Linked DNA regions of Homo sapiens: regions 2 and 3 are each linked to region 1. Evidence: promoter capture Hi-C in 16 types of primary human blood cells and fetal thymus (Javierre and others, 2016). All regions are on one chromosome and are shown on one strand. The core of a region is centred on a gene start or on the middle of the fragment in contact, and the rest is flanking DNA. Distances in the headings are between cores, read along the strand shown. Region 1 holds the start of ZNF621 (zinc finger protein 621). Region 2 has its middle 42 kb from the start of CTNNB1. Region 3 overlaps CTNNB1 (catenin beta 1).

The links. The method cuts DNA at HindIII sites, captures the fragments that hold promoters and counts their contacts. A CHiCAGO score of 5 or more calls a contact.
Region 2: a contact is called between a fragment that was not itself captured here and the fragment with the promoter of ZNF621 in region 1, in 1 of 17 cell types (total B cells). The highest score is 9.1, in total B cells.
Region 3: a contact is called between a fragment that was not itself captured here and the fragment with the promoter of ZNF621 in region 1, in 2 of 17 cell types (naive B cells and total B cells). The highest score is 5.7, in naive B cells.

The regions. Positions count from the first base shown.
Region 1 is chr3:40,523,699-40,526,236 of GRCh38, reverse strand. It overlaps ZNF621 (zinc finger protein 621), which reads right to left and starts at 1,277. Exons shown (of 5, transcript NM_198484.5): 1 at 963-1,277; 2 at 373-458. The coding sequence starts at 396. RefSeq lists enhancers at 796-935, 495-1,307, 1,586-1,675 and a silencer at 1,236-1,395. The HindIII fragment of the contact is 8,303 bases long and covers 1-2,276 here.
Region 2 is chr3:41,240,495-41,243,032 of GRCh38, reverse strand. No RefSeq gene overlaps it. Among named protein-coding and RNA genes, the nearest start is that of CTNNB1, 42 kb to the right of the region's middle. The HindIII fragment of the contact is 1,510 bases long and covers 514-2,023 here.
Region 3 is chr3:41,220,104-41,222,641 of GRCh38, reverse strand. The region is part of intron 1 of CTNNB1 (catenin beta 1); the gene reads right to left. Among named protein-coding and RNA genes, the nearest start is that of CTNNB1, 22 kb to the right of the region's middle. The HindIII fragment of the contact is 8,015 bases long and covers 1-2,538 here.

The sequences.
Region 1 (2,538 bases), core at 28-2,527:
ATCATAGTGCCACTACACTCCAGCTTGGGCGACAGAGTGAGACTCCGTCTCACAAAAAATGAGTCTGATTTCAGTAGGTGACTTTCATTTCTAGAACACGATCTGGATTTCCACATTCAGAAAGAATTTCTTGGTATAGGTCCCCTTTCTTCCATTTAAATCTATACATCCAAACTCATCACTCTCTATACACAAAACTTTCATTTCCCCAGCACATATTTACATCTGCCATAGCCCTGGAGATAGATACAAAGGGGAAAACACAGCTTGGCCAAGTTAGGCCTTCCTCATCCTTTCCTGATTATCTGATAGCTAATGTGAGTAAAAAAACATAAACAAACAAACAAAAAAACTGAAAGAAGCTCAGCTCACCTGAGGCCAAGTTGTTTGGAGCATGGCGGATGTCCCCTGGCTTCATGCACTGTCTTCTGGGTTTGGACAAGCAAGATCCTCAAGAGCTAAGAGAAAAAGAGCCATGAGTGCTAAGGACCCTGTCGTCCACCACCTACAGCAACCTATGGCCCTCCCAGTTTCCACATTTCCAGCACTGGATGCACGGAGATTCTACTAGGACTCCCTCTAATTGTTCTCACGCTGATAGCCCCAAACTTCTTATGAATTGTTCTGCCTAGTCTTCAGGACAATCTTCCACCTGCCTGCTCAGTCCGAAGAGCTTTTTTTGAGCCCATTCGTACGGGTAAACTGAGGGACCCAAGAGCCCTGTCCCTATTGTGTTGGGTCTCTACAAACGTAAAGAGTCTTTACAGAATGCTTACAGGGACGATGACGTGGACCCAAAAGAAAGAACCTCAGGAGAAGAGGGACTGGGGTGGCTGAATGCGGATTAAGGGTAAAATACTCAGCGTCCCAGTGGGTGATGCTGACCGGAGACCCCACCCAACCGTGATCTTAACACTCCACCCAAGAAAACAGGCAACCCCAAACATCAGAAACGTCAGTACCGGGAGCCAGAGGCTGTCAGGGCAAGTTCTTTAGGGCAGAAAAGAGGATCAGGCCTCGGTGGCAAAGGGCTGGACACGGGCTCTAGAAGCCCGAGCAGCCACCTTGACGGCTTCGGCGAGGCCCAGATGCCCACGGTCCGGGTGAAGGAGGGGCGGGCCGCCATTGGGACCAAGTTCAGGGGTAGTGGGGGCTGACGAGCCGCCAGGGGCAGCGAGGAAGCCGGCACCGGGCGGACCTGGCACGTAGAACTCGCTGAAACCCACGCTCTGCAGAACGCCGAGGAGCTGGTCACTAACTAAAGGCCGAGCCGGAAGGGCGAGTGCACGCCCAGGGTCCCTCTAGGCCCCCGGAGGCCGCCATCTCGGTCGCCCCGTGGCCAGACCCGCCCCGCCTTTCATGGCTGGCCCCGCCCTGCGGAAGAGGCGAGGTTGCGGCGACCGGCTGGGCTGAGAGGCCGGCGGCGGGCGTGGAACTGTGGCGCTCTAAGCCCGGCTTTCTCCGGCAGCCGTCGGCATCGCCTCTGGCTGGAGTGTCACGGACTGATACAGCCTGGCTCTACCGAGACCTCGCCCTCTAGGCACAAGTGGGCCCCCAGTTCACGGGCTGCGCCTCAGCTGTTGGCCGCCTTGGCCCCGTGGCTCACCTGAAGCCTGGGCCGTGCAGGTGAGGGGAGAATGGCGCCTGCTTTGTCATCTCTAAGAGGCCCAAGCCCAGGATCTTGCTTGGGTCCTCAGCTGGGCAGTCCTCAGGGAAACCATGGTTTCCACTCGCCGTTTTAGCCCTCTCCCTTCCAAGGACCTAGATGTGCGTAGAACCTTTTAGGACAGATTCATTTAACAACCAAAACACCCGTGGCTACATACAGTTGCTAGGCATCCTGTATACACAGGACATGTCCTATATTAAATGATCTTGTCCTGTGTTGACTTTGGGAGGACACCCTAAATGTCTTATATTTAGCTTTTTCCAATAAATTACAAAAACTCGTAGTTACAGCTATTTTTCTGCTCAGTAACTGGCACTTAAATAAAATGTTAACACCAGCTGAAATATATATATCTCATACTTCCATAAATAATGATCTGGACAGACCTTTATGGTCTGTTCTGTTAGTTGGACTGCAGGAAGAAAAAACAGTGAAGAGGGGAGGCTGCTAATTAAAAGAACTTACTTTTCATATTCAGGAAAGGAAAAGACTGTTTTTTGACCAAAGTCCCAAGTCACTAACAAGTACTTGCCATTAATTTACATAATTTTAGATCAGTACACGTACTCTGAAAATCAACCAGTACACAACAGCCTCACTCCAAGCTTCTGAACATGAGCCAGTCAGTGATAAACACTTCCCGAAGCCAGCCAGTGGCAGCTCTACCCAGCTCATTGGCAAGTACCTCACTACTGTGCCCTTCCTTCTGGACAGGAGCCTTTCTCCAGTATCAAAGTGGTTGCTAAGATGGACAGACTTTGTTTTTTTTTTTTTTGCTTGTTTTTTGTTTGTTTGTTTTTTTGAGACGGAGTCTCGCTCTGTCGCCCAGGCTGGAGTGCAATGGCGCAATCTCGGCTCACTGCAAGCTC
Region 2 (2,538 bases), core at 19-2,518, 720 kb before region 1:
AAATTACATTTATGGACACACGGACCTTTCCCTATTCATGCCAAAACCTACTTTGGAAATACATAGAGATGGGGTTTCTCCTTTGCCTTCCTGCATACCCCTATACCTGTTCTGACCTTCCCCCACAACCTCAACTCTGAAACTTGTCACTTCCTTCTACGTTTACTGGAGTCTCAAGTGGTGGAATGGATATTATACAGAATTCCACATAGGAGGCTGCGATAAAAGAAAAAGGAAGAACTGCCCTGACAGCCCCTGCAGCCCCATCATTTCATAATTTCACTTTGGTGGGTGATCTGCTCAAGGCAAGGAAAGGCAGGTTCTCACTTAATAGAACTGCAGATCAACTTAGCATTTTTGCTTTATAAACAAAACAGCACAATTCACATCTTTTTATTATAGCAACCAAGAGTTAAAGAGTGTGTTTATCTTAAGATCTTTCATTATTAAGGATTCAGATCATCAGATTTCAAAGCCTCATGTCTGTAAGATCTGCTCCAACATAGAAAAGCTTCCTTCTTTGGTTCAATGGTGGTTGCTGCAATGGGATCAAATGTCTTAACTCTCAAGGCTGTCTCATAACTACAGCACAACTGAAAAAAGAACACTCAGGCTGGAAAGCCCTCCTATTCTCAACGGCCATGTTCATTTTGTCATTTTCACCTCCTGTACCCGGAAATGCAAGTGGGCAGCATTCCTTTTAGGCCTTTTCCTCCCCACCACTACTTCTCTTATTGAAAACTTGACCTCACTTTCTTCACCACTATTTACAGGAAAGGTTAGGTACCTTGCCAGCATCCCATGCACCTCCCTCTCCAGGTTAACCATTATTCTGATTTCTATAGTCATCTAATCATCTCCTTGCTCCATCTGTGGATATTTTCCTTAAAATAGCTTGTCCCTTTTTTTAATTGATGATCAATGGAGTTCTAAAGCATGCATCTGTAACTTGCTTTTGTTCAGTGTTATGTGAGATAGATATATGCATACTATACTGACACCCACATCACTGAAGCTGTAGTTTTTCACTGCACTGTCTCGTGTGAACAGAGATTGTTGGACACATGGGCGTCCAGTGTAGACTGTCAGCGTTGTGCCCTACCAAGCCTTACTGGCGCTTGAGGCAAAAGAAAAATCAGTACTACTGCCTTTATTTAAAATCTTGATATTTTGTTGGGTCATGGATGTTTTTCTGTATTGTTTTATTCCAACGGCTGTTTCACACCTTTATGAAAAAGTTGCTCTCCTCCCACTCGGATCTCCAACGCTGTCTCTGAAGAGTCTTTAAATGCCTGTGTATTATTCTGTATTAATCTGTATTTATATCCCTATTCCTGTAACAGGGTTAACTAACTTTAGCTTTGTATTAAGTAGTTAGGCCTTGACAGCTGCTAGAGCAAGTGCTATTTTTCCTAAGCGTCTTGGCTATTATTCACCCTTGGTACTTCCAGAGCCACCTTGTTGAACTGGATTAACTCTCACATTAAGTTTTTAAACTTCAAAAATAAAATACAATGAATTAGCAAAGCTCTGAAAACATTCTCTGGTTTTAAAAAGTTGTTCTTTCTGTAATTGAAACACCGTGCGGTGGCTCTTTATGTTAAAAGCTGAATTCACTGAAGATCTTCACGGTGTTAACCTACCAATAGCCCTAGGCTTCTTGAAATACTGGCTGGTTTGGTTTATCACACATGAGACAGAACCTGAGACCTACCACATCATCAGCTATGTGAATGTTTCTTTTCAAACCCTAATTACATTTTAGACCACAATGAATTCATTTTTGCAAAGCAAGGGCATTCACAAAAAGGCCTCCCCAGATGAAGCTGATTTTTAACGAAAAAGAACTGAATGTATGTTTTTCTCATAATTAATAGTCACTATCAATCATCATCAAAATAAAAACAGTAAATCAGAAAGAGCTCTCCCTAAAGACAAAACACTTCTTTCTTTTACTTTTTAAAAGACCAAAACACAAGTCTTAACAAACAGGTCTACCTGAAGAGATGAGATGAACTAAGCTTGTCAGACCTACCACCGGGATGATAGGATCATCTGGCAGGTACTGTGGAAGGCTCATTCTGGTTCTGATTATGTTCAGATAAACATCAACACTTAAACCTATTTAATTTATTTAATTATTATTAGTTCAAAGTCCAGTTGAAGGAATTCCCCTCTCCCAATGAGTCACACTTGGGTGAAGGTGATTCAAATCCAAATCCAGGTAGGGGTAGTTACTATTTATTTCATTACTTTAATGGAATCAAATCATCTGAGGGGGATTGGGGTAGAGATAGATAGATGGATAGTCTGCTTGGCTTTCTCCCACCAAAGCCCAGAACTAATCACAATGTGCAAGGCTGAAACACTTTTTTAGGGGTCCAGCGTAATCCAGGGCCAAATGCTAAAGAAACTTGGCAAATTGCATCTAGAGAAGTAGGGCCCTCTCTATCGCTACAACAAATTACTTCACTATGTATCTATCTATCTCAGGATAAAGTTCAGGATAAAGTTGAGTTGGATAAACTTACTTACCAC
Region 3 (2,538 bases), core at 17-2,516, 700 kb before region 1:
ACTCTGTGTGGGCTGACCTAGTAACTTGACCGCAATTTATAATGATTTCATTTTTACAATGGAAAAAAGCAAGTTCATGTTCCAAATTTACAATAGCCATTTGTACACTGGGACTTCCCAACATTACATATATATTTTTTAGCTTTTAAAATTTATGCAACATAAATAAAAATTCATCTTGCTCTTCACTGCAACCCTATGAGGTGAAGGAGGGTAAAAACCTATCAGTAGATAGAGAAGTAAAAACAAAGGGTAGAAATGGGGATCTAATTAGGTAACAGCATAGACTCACTCACCTTGTACCTGCTCTGGAGGCAGATCCACATATGCCAAAAAACTGAGCATTAACTGCTAAAGAAATCAAATAGACTGCCAAGCAAGACCTAGGGCAGAACCCTGCTCCGGAAAGGAAAAGGAAAGCCTTCCTCTTTCTTTTTCTGGCCTGAGCCTTTGGACTAAGGGCTGTCTCTCCTCCACCACACCCTGCCAACCATTAAGGGCCCAATTCTAGTGCTCCCAATTAGCCAAAACTTACCAATCACTTCAGGAAAATTTTTTTTTAAAGCAACGAAAAAACTGACTCCATAGAAACTGAGATAAAACTTGAAACTAGGGATAGGGTGGAGAGAGAAACAGAACACTTCAATTTAGTATCTCCATAAATACTGGAGAGAATAAATAAAAACAAAAAGTTGAATAGAAACTAAAATTGAGAAAACTGCCTAGAGTACAAAAAAATGACAAAGACAAAAAATACAACAGAAGAAATCACGATCAATTCAGGAGATCAAAGGTCCAACCAGTAGACATTTCAGAAAGAATTATGAAGAAACAAAAATGATAAAATCCACTAAGTACCAATCAAGAGGGAGGAGTGCTTAAAAATTATGAAGTACAATCATGCACTGCATAAGGACATTTCAGTCAAGATGGACTACATATGCTACAGTGGCCCCACAAGATTTTAATTCTGTATTTTTACTGGATCTTTTCTATGTTTAGGTAAACAAGCCAGGCGAAGTGGCTTGTAATTCTAACACTTTGGGAGGCGGGTGGATTGCTGCAGCACAAGAGTTCCAAGACCAGCCTGGACAACACAGCGAAATTCCATCTCTACAAAAAAATGTTAAAAATTAGCCAGGTGTGGTAGTATGTGCCTGTAGTCCTAGCCACTGGGGAGGCTGAGGCAAAGAGGATCACTTAGGAGTTCAAGGTTATAGTGAGCTATGATCACACCAATGCATCCAGCCTGGGCAACAGAGCAAGACCCTGTCTCTTAAAAGAATTTAAAAAAAAAAAAAAGGATACATAAATACCACTGTTTCAACTGCCTATAGTAACACGCTATACAGCTTTACACCCTAGAAGCAACAGGCTATACTATATAGGCTAGGCATGCAGTACACTATGCCATCTAGGTTTGTATAAGTACTACGCTAAATGTTTCAAGACACAGATTATCATTAAACTACAGACTACATTAGAATGCTGTGTTTTCCAACAGCTTTATCACCACCAAGTGATGTTTTGACAAAGAGGGGGCTAGCCAACTTCTCATGTATTTTCCATCCAGTCTAATGCATCCATGCATCTTTTTTTTGGCAATATGAACATAATACTCTTTCCAACTACAAGGATACTTCAAAATTCACCGTGCTATTTCCGATTTTAACCCTATAAATGTCTCCAGTCAAAGTCAATGGGAGAAATCTTGCCACAACTAATATATAATAGATTTCACACTGAAGTTATTTTTCCTCTTCCCATCAGGACAGAATTATCTTAATTACCTTAGTTTTCAGTAAGTTTGAGTATTATTAACTAGGAGTAAATCTGCTACATAAAAATATAAAGCAGACATATTTTAAAACCACAGTTTTATACTAGCAATTCATAATTCACTTTTCCAATAATCAAGATCCAAAGAATTATTCCCCGTTTTAAAGTTAGAAAGTGCTACTCTATTTCATAAGCATGATAAACTTTTGATACACCTTCAGGGATTTTTAAAAAGTTCTTAGTAAAATTTGTAAATCTAAAAACACATGCATATGCATTTTCATTAACTGTCACCAGTAATACTTTGCCATCTAGAAAATGTATGCAATTTCCTCAAATCTTCCTGTTTTAACACACTTCATGCAACACTAACATTTTAAGTTACAACTCACTCCAGGTTCTTTTCTGCTTTCTTCCTTCACAGCTTTCTTCGGGGAGGGGGGTGGGGTGGGTGGGTGAGGGTGTGGGTGTGGGTGTGGGTGTGTGTGTTCTCAAGGTGTCTTGTCATCCTCGAATAGTCAATAAGCATCAAACATCAAATGACCCTTGGTCCTCCAAACACTAAAATGTATGCCTTTGGTACTGTCTTTAAATAGGTACACAAATGGTTATTAGAAGTATGAAATCTTCTCAGGTAGGAAACAGAAGGTAAATGGAAAAAAAAAAGAAATAGGAAATCTCTTTATGGCTGGGAAAAATTAGTATGTTTCCAGAATGAGCTGTTCTTCATAACTGTCTTCCTTCCTCAGCCATAAATAT